Linked DNA regions of Homo sapiens: region 1 is linked to region 2. The links are contacts of gene promoters, found by promoter capture Hi-C in human tissues and cell types (Jung and others, 2019). All regions are on one chromosome and are shown on one strand. Each heading gives the region's core, a stretch centred on a gene start or on the middle of the fragment in contact. The rest is flanking DNA. Distances are from core to core; before and after follow the strand shown.

Region 1 (4,101 bases), core at 488-2,987, 710 kb before region 2:
CCCCTGCCTACCTCTCCAAACTCATTGTCTTTCCCGGTTACCAAAGCTCCAGCCACCTTGGCCATCTTGGTCCTTGAGTAAGTGTTTTCCTTACTGAAGACCATGGCTCAGGCCATCAGCCAGCTAGATAAGTCTGGCTTATTCCAGTATTCTCTTCTATCACCCTTTTGTGCAGTTGCTAATGGTCTGTTTCCCACTCTAGGTTGCAAACTTTCTAAGGACAGAGATCATCCGTCTTAGCCACCAGTTATGTACTCAGCACATAGCAAAAGGCTTGTCACACAATGAGACTCAAACACTTGTCAAATGAACGTATATACATTCAACCTGGGTCTTAAAAAAGATGTATAGGCATTCAACAACAAAAAGTGGTATGCCGGACCCTAAAAAGAATGGAGAGCAGTGGCAAGGAAATAAGGCTAGGAATACAGCTTAGAGCCCAATGTTCATGAGGACTTGAATCTGAGAATTTGGATTGGGTGGCAGTGTAGAGGGTGGACTGGGAACGTGGTAGGATGAGGATTAGGAAGATATAAAGACAGGGCAGGATGCCGCACCAATCTGGGCACCTCTTCCTAATTTCTATGTGGCTCACTCTGGCCTGTCACAGCTCTTTATACAATTTTTGGTGTGTTTGTGGGTTCTTCTCCATCTTACTGTGAACCTTACAGATGCTGGAATTGGGTCTTACTTGCATGCCTAACATTCCAGCATACAGTAAAAAATAACAGCTGTTCTCTTTTTTTTTTTTTTGAGACAGAGTCTCGCTCTGTCGCCCAGGCTGGAGTGCAGTGGCGCGATCTCGGCTCACTGCAACCTCCGCCCCTCCAGGTTTAAGCAGTTCTCTGCGTCAGCCTCCGGAGTAGCTGCGATTACAGGCGCATGCCACCACGCCCGGCTAATTTTTTGTATTTTTAGTAGAGACGGGGTTTCACCATCTTGGCCAGACTGGTCTTGAACTCTTGACCTCGTGATCCACCCTCCTCGGCCTCCCAAAGTGCTGGGATTACAGGCGTGAGCCACATAACAGCAGTTCTCACCAAGCATCTGACAGCCGAAAAACTGAAAGCATTAGAGAATGCTACAGGACAGGCTTTGGCTTAGTAGTGAGTTCTGAGTTCAAGCTGAGGCTCTGCACTTATTAGCTAGAACTTTGCTTAATCTCTCACAGGTCTCCTCTAAATGATTAAATGGCGTAACGGAGGTAAGCGGATTAGCACAATTCCCGGCAAACAGTAAGCACTCAATTGTTACTACTGAATTGCCAGTTCACAGGCACAACCAACCGATCTCTCTCATCTCCTGGTTCCTCTGTTGCCAACTTCCTCGTTGAGGTCCAACAGGATACCTGTGGGGTAATGTGTCCCAGATGATATCCCAGTCCTGACACCAAGACAAAGGCACCAACCAAAAATGGCGACCTCAAAGCCATCCGAGGGCGTCAATTACCCGTCATGCTACCGATAGATAAATAAGCAGCGTCGGGAAGAAAAGCTAGTGAAGGATTCTTAACGCCGGGTTGGAATACGCAGAGCTCGCTCATGCTGCCACTCAACCACAAGCAGTTAAAAGCGCAAGCTGCAGGGTGTACCTACACACAGCTCAATATCGCCACCACGTGTCGGAGGGCAGTCTGCGCCTGCGCAAGCGAGGCGCGCGCCCGCCGGCCGGAAGAGCCGCGCGTTTCCGGGTTGGAGGCGGGGAGCGGTGCCGGAAGTAGTCGGGGAGGGCCGCGCAGTCGGACCGGCTGCTGAGACGAACGCTTCACTGGGGCAGTCTCTGCATATCATGGGGAGATAGACGCTGCTGCCTGTGAGTCTTGGGCCCTGGCAGTTGAGGAACAAGAGCGGGAGGAGGGAGTCAGGACCCAGACCTACAGTGGGTCAGTGTTCGAAGGACCAGGTTGTGGACGAGACGGGGCTGTGAGGATTCAGGCTCTTGGGAAGGGACTGACTGAGAGGATCAGGCTCGGAGAAGACGCGGCTGTGGGGACCCGGGCTCTAAGACGGGACTTAGGGAACGGGGACGGATGCGAGTTCTCCGGCATCTGAGGGAAAGTGGTCTGAGAGGAGCAGGATTATGAGGACCCGCACTCCTACGAGGAAAGGGTCAGAAAGGAACGGGGCGTGAAGACACAGGCTCCGGAGAGGTAAAAGTGGAGCGGTGAGGACTTGGGCTCCTAAGAGGCAGAAGCGGGACAGTGAAGACCCGGGCTCCTAAGGATTCAGAAACGGGGCAGCGAAGACTTAGGTTCCTGAGGGGCAGAAGCAGACAGAGAAAACTTGAGTTTGGAAGGGAACAGAAGCGGGCAGTGAAGACTGGGGCTTCTTTGGGGACGGGATCCGGGCTTTGAGACTCCGAGTTCCTGAGTCTCGGAACAGGGCTGTGAGTACCCAAGCTCCTAAAAGCCTTGGATCTAAGGGACCATGGATATGAGATCAGCCTACAAAGTAAAGGGAAAGGGTTTGGAAAAGATTTAGTGATCCATTTTTTCACAGTATTCCCTGAACCCAGAGAGATAAAGGACGTATTCAGGGGAAGACAACTTCTCCTTCGCACTGCCTACTTGGCTCTTGGCAAGCTTTTCTTGTGTCAGATACTCAATCTAGGAAGCCCATATGCAAACATCTTCATTTTCTGCTTCATTCTTGGGAATCAGATGTGAAGTTGAAAACAGTTGGAACTCAGTTATGTACTTGATAAGTGCTTTAAATCCCATTCCACTCAACCCTGAATGAGCACAGATCTCTGCATCTCAAATAAAAGAATGTCAGTGATGGAAGAGTCCCAAAAGATCATCTTTTAAAAACTCCTATTTTACATTTAAGAAGGCTAAGGTTCAAAGAGGCTTAGGATTACAGTGAGGCAATGGTTAGTTAGATCATAATTTTAATACAGTACCCTTCTGTGCGTAGCAAATGAGATGCTTGGTTAATGTTCCTTAAATGCTTCTAGAATCTTTGCTTTATCTTCAAACTCAGGAGGGAATTTTTTTTTTTTTTTTTTTTTTGAGACAGGTTCTCTCTCTGTCGCCCAGTCTGAAGTGCAGCGGCTCAGTCTTGGCCCCGTGCACCTCCAACCTCCTAGGCTCAAGCAGTCTTCCCACCTATACCTCCTGAGTAGCTGGAACTACGGGCGTGTGCCACCACGCCCTGCTAATTTTTAAATTTTTTGTAGAAACAGGGTCTCACTATATTGCCCAGGCTGGTCTCAAACTCCTAAGCTCAAGTGATCCTCCCACCTTGGCCTCCCAAAGTGCTGGGATTACAGGCATGAGTCACCTCACCCCCCTTGCAGTTTTTGTTTTTGTTTTGTTTTGTTTTGTTTTTTTGAGACAGAGTCACCCAGGCTGGAGTGCAGTGGCACGATCTCGGCTCACTGCAATCTCTGCTTCCCCAGTTCAAACGATTCTCCTGCCTCAGCCTCTCAAGTAGCTGGAATTACAGGTGTGTGCCACAATGCCCGGCTACTTTTTGTATTTTTAGTAGAGACAGGTTTTTGCCATGTTGGCCAGGCTGTGTTTCGAACTCCTGATCTCAAGTGATCCGCCCGCCTCAGCCTCCCGAAGTGCTGGGATTATAGAAATGAGCCACTGCGCCCGGCCCAGTTTTTATTTCCAGTAAAAACTGGAAATTTTTACAGTTTCTGATAATTTGAGTGTTGTTACTGTATTGACATTAATACAGTAAATGTCACTTAATAGTAAGGAAACCTTTATTTTTATTTTTGTGTTTTTGAGACAGGGTCCTGTTCTGTTGCCCATATTGGAGTGCAGTGGCATAATCATAGTTCACTGCAACCTATATTCTTGGGCTCAAGCACTCCTCCTGCCTCAGCCTCCTGGGACTGCAGGTATGAGCCACTACACCCAGCTAATTTTTAAGTTTTTTTGTAGAGACAGTGTTTGGCTGTGTTGCCTAGGCTGCTGTTGAATTCTTGGCCTCAAATGATTCTCCCGCCTTGGCCTCCCAAAATGTTCTTATAGGCATGAGCCACTGCACCTGGCTGGAACCTTTAAATAAAGCTCAGTGTTATTTATTTATTTAATAAGCTGTTTGGAAAGTCATAAATAAGTGTGTCCTGTATTTTTAGTGCAAACAT
Region 2 (4,280 bases), core at 126-2,625:
CTCAGGTAATTCTCCCAGCTGAGTCTCCCAAGTAGCTGGCACTACAGGCACCCACTACCACACCCAGCTAATTTTTGGTATTTTTAGTAGAGTCAGGGTTTTGCTATGTTGCCCAGGCTGGTCTCAAACTCCTGGACTCAAGCAATCCACCCTCCTCAGCCTCCCAAAGTGCTGGGATTACAGATGTTAGCCACTGCGTCTGGCCTCAAGGGTCCTTTTAAACATACAGAAGTCAGAATAGATTACACCTGTGCCTAGAACCCTCCAATGACATCCCATTTCACCCTGAGCAAAAGCCTGCGTCCTTCCTATCTACAGGCACGTGGAAAGAAAAATGTCTGAGTCCTCAAGAGAGTCTTCGAGGCTATCCATGATTTGGCACCTGCCCCACCCCACCATCTGCCAACCTCACCCCCACTTGTCCTGCCCACCCTGCTTCAGCCACGCGGGCTTCCTTGCTGTTCCTCATGCACATCTCCTGTGTGTCCACCTCAGACCCCGTGCACTGTCCTCTCTTCCTGTAATGTTCTGGACACCCATGTGGCTCCCCCACTCACTGCCTCAAGGCTCCACTTGAGTGTCACCTGATTTGACAGCTCTTCTCTGGACGTCTTGTAAGTACCCCCTCCCCACAACCCGCCTTCCCTGTTCTACTTTATTTTCCCCATAACACTTATCATCTCCTCCAATGCTGCGTACTTTACTTGTTCGTGTGGTTTGTTTTTTTCTCCCCAGATGAAGGAATTCTTCATTGAGACGGGGACTTTCTTTTCTTCTCTGATATATCCCTGGCTCCTAGAATAACGTATGGTACAGGAAAGGACCTCATTTGTTGAATGAGTCCACGAATCTTTCCTGCCACCTCCTACCTCTACTAATTAGCTAGCTCTCACGTACCCAGACCTCTTCGCAATGTCGGTGTCCCTCCCTGGCCAGCTGGCGCCTCCACTTAAAATCTTCAGCCTCAAACAGCACTTGCTAAGGCCCACTAGCTCTCCCCACCTGCCTCCCTGCCTAGCTCCTGCCTTGCTATCTTTAGAAGCACCTTCAAGCTGGCTGCGAGCAGCTTCCCGCAGCCCCAGAGTTCACAGTACAAAACAAAGGCATAGCAGACATTCCCAGTGCTGTACCTGGTTCAGCCCTGGCACCTCCCCAGTTAGCCAGGAAAATCAGCCAGGCGAGCAGCCTCATCCTCGGGGCTCACTTCCCCAGAGCCGTGGGATTCTCAGGCACTGTTGTTGTTCTCACCACAGGCTTCCTAAGTAGTTTTCTGTGGCCACGTGCCTGAGCAGAACTCCTTGTCCTGTTACAGGTGTTCCAAGTCCTCCAAGGCGTCTGGATCCTCTGGCTCTTCCTCCTTTGCCCAGCAGGGTATGATCTGGGCTGGCCCGAGGAGGCAGGCATACCGGACCCTTAAGTGGAAGCCACACCTCTCCTGCCAGTGCAGCCCCTGCCCCCAAGAGGGAGGGGCAAACAACAGAATTGCCGGTCAGCACATCAGGTGTATTGGCAAGCCCCGGAAAGGGGGATCTAATTCAGACTGAGGAATGTGAGAGGGCTTCTAGGAGGGGGTGACACGTTTAATCCTTTCTTAACATTGTATTATGGAAACAGTCAAACAGAAACAGGAGAGAGAATGGTGTAATGAACCCCCAAGTACCTTCCTCCAGCTTCAGTAATTATGAACTTATGGCCACTCTTATTTCATCTATACTCACTTTTGATTATTTTATGTATTTAAACAACTTTTTTTTTTTTTTGAGACGGAGTCTCATTCTGTCACCCAGGCTGTAGTGCAGTGGCACCATCTCAGCTCACTGCAAGCTCTGCCTCCCGGATTCACACCATTCTCCTGCCTCAGCCTCCCGAGTAGCTGGGACTACAGGCGCCCGCCACCACGCCCGGCTATTTTTTTGTATTTTTAGTAGAGACGGGGTTTCACTGTGTTAGCCAGGATGGTCTCGATCTCCTGACCTTGTGATCCACCCGTCTCGGCCTCCCAAAGTGCTGGGATTACAGGCATGAGCCACCGCGCCCGGCCCTATTTAAACAACTTTTAAAATTTTTTATTATTTTAACTTTTATTTATTTATGTATTTTTTTAGAGAAGTGTCTCAGGCTGGGTGCAGTGGCTCATGTCTGTAATCCCAGCACTTTGGTAGGCTAAGGCAGGAGGATCGCTTGAGCCCAGGAGTTTGAGGCCATCCTGAGCAACATAGTGAAACACCATCTCTACAAAAAATAAAAAAATTAGCTGGGCATGGTAATACATGTCTATAGTCCAGCTACTTGGGAGGCTGAGGCAGGAGGATCCCTTGAGCCTGGGAGGTAGAAGTTGCAGTAAGCCAAGATTGCATCATTGCATTCCAGCCTGGGTGATAGAGCAAGACTCTGTCTCAAAAAAAAAAAAAAAAAAAAAAAAGAAGGGGGTTGTCTCACTCTGCCACCCAGGCTAGAGTGCAGTGGCAAGATAATAATAGCTCACTGCAGCCTCGAGCTCCTGGACTCAAGCTATCTTCCTATCTTCCTGCTTCAACCTCTGGAATAGCTGGAACTATAGGCACTCGCTACCTCACCTGGCTTTTTTTTTTTTTTTTTTTAGAAACAGCATCTCACTACATTACTCAGGCTGGTCCCAAACTCCTGGCTTCAAGTGATCCTCCCACCTCAGCCTCCCAAAGCACTGGGCTGACAGGTGTGAGCTATCATACCTGGCCCTCACTGTATGATGTTAAATTCCAGTGATCATATCATCTTGAACGTAAACAGTATTTATCTCTAAAAGGTAAGGATTCTCTTTTTCTTTCTTTCTTTTTTTTTTTTTTTTTGAGATGGAGTTTCACTCTTGTTGCCCAGGCTGGAGTGCAATGGCAGGATCTCGGCTCACCGCAAAATCGGCCTCCCGGGTTCAAGTGATTATCCTGTCTCTGCCTCCCGAGTAGCTGGTATTACAGGCATGCGCCACCACACCTGGCTAATTTTGTATTTTTAGTAGAGATGGGGTTTCTCCATATTGGTCAGGCTGGTCTCAAACTCCCAACCTCAGGTGATCTGCCCAACTTGGCCTCCCAAAGTGCTGGGATTACAGGCGTGAGCCACTGCACCCGGCTAGGACTCTCTTTTTCTAACACATTATCAGATCTAAAAAAAAAAATAGTAATTCCACCAGGCGTGGTGGCTCACACCTGTAATCCCAGCTACTTGGGAGGCTGAGGCAGGAGAATCACTTGAACCCGGGAGGCGGAGCTTGCAGTGAGCCGAGATAGTGCCACTGCACTCTAGCCTGGGCGACAGAGCGAGACTCCACCTCAAAAAAAAAAAGAAAGAAAAAGAAAAACAGTAATTCCTTACTTCCACCAGGCAGATATGTGGTCAGTTTCCCTGATGTCACCAAATTTCCCTGATGTCTCTTTTTTTTTTTTTTTTTTTTTACAGCGGGTTCTTTCAAATCAGGGTCCAAACAAGGTCCACACATTGCATTTGGTAGATGTGTCTCTTAAGTCTCCCTTAATTTGTAGCTCTCCTGCCCTCTCCCCATTTTTTCCTTGTTCTTTGTCCTGTGAATTTCCCACATTCTGGAGGATTTGGCTGATTCCTTTCTGGTGGTGTCATTTAACATATTCCTCTGTCCCCCATATTTCCTGTAAACTGATAGTTACAGCCAAGGGTTTGATGACATTCAGGTTTGACTTTTGGGGAAGAAGACTTCTCAGGTGGTCTTGGGTCTTTCCTGTTGTTTTGCATGGCAAAGCACGTAAGATATGGTTGTCCCACCAGCTTAACCTTAATTTACAAGTAGGAGTTAGCAGGAAAAGGAGAAAGCTGGGGAGGAGGGTATCCCAGGCAGAAGGAGCTGAATCATCCCAGAGAGCTGAGTTGGGTGATATTGGGCTTGGGGTGCTAAGCCTGGGGAAGCAGGCAGGAGCCAGGTTGTGCTCAGCTGTTTGAGCTGAGAGCTGTGGGGAGCTATGGCAGAGACACAACCTAATTTGCATTTTAGAAAGATGCACTGGCTCTGTGGAAGATGGATTTTTGGGGAAACCAGCAAGCAAGGAGGCTAAGGCAGGGAAGTTGTCATAGTCCTTTCTGTGCTGTTATAACAGAATACCTGAGACTGAGTATTTAATAAAGAGCAGAAGTGTATTGGCTCACAGTTCTGCAGGCTGGAAAGTGTAAGATCAAGGCACCAGCAGGCTGGGTGTCTGGTAAGGCCATTCGCTTCTTCCAAGATGATGCCTTGCATGCTGCATCCTCTGGAGAGGAGAAAGGCTGAGTCCTCA

Evidence for each region. Contacts are between HindIII fragments. The study calls those that stand out against the background at their distance.
Region 1: a contact is called between the fragment with the promoter of TAF12 here and the fragment with the promoter of SMPDL3B in region 2, in 1 of the 25 tissues and cell types used here (heart right ventricle).

Annotation. Positions count from the first base shown.
Region 1 is chr1:28,640,703-28,644,803 of GRCh38, reverse strand. It overlaps TAF12 (TATA-box binding protein associated factor 12), which reads left to right and starts at 1,737. Exons shown (of 6, transcript NM_005644.4): 1 at 1,737-1,812. It overlaps TAF12-DT (TAF12 divergent transcript), which reads right to left and starts at 1,548. Exons shown (of 2, transcript NR_146730.1): 1 at 1,041-1,548. RefSeq lists a silencer at 1-187. The HindIII fragment of the contact is 16,599 bases long and covers 1-4,101 here.
Region 2 is chr1:27,932,095-27,936,374 of GRCh38, reverse strand. SMPDL3B (sphingomyelin phosphodiesterase acid like 3B) reads right to left here and starts at 1,375. Exons shown (of 8, transcript NM_014474.4): 1 at 1,131-1,375. The coding sequence starts at 1,191. RefSeq lists a silencer at 1,248-1,513 and an enhancer at 840-1,741. The HindIII fragment of the contact is 15,081 bases long and covers 1-4,280 here.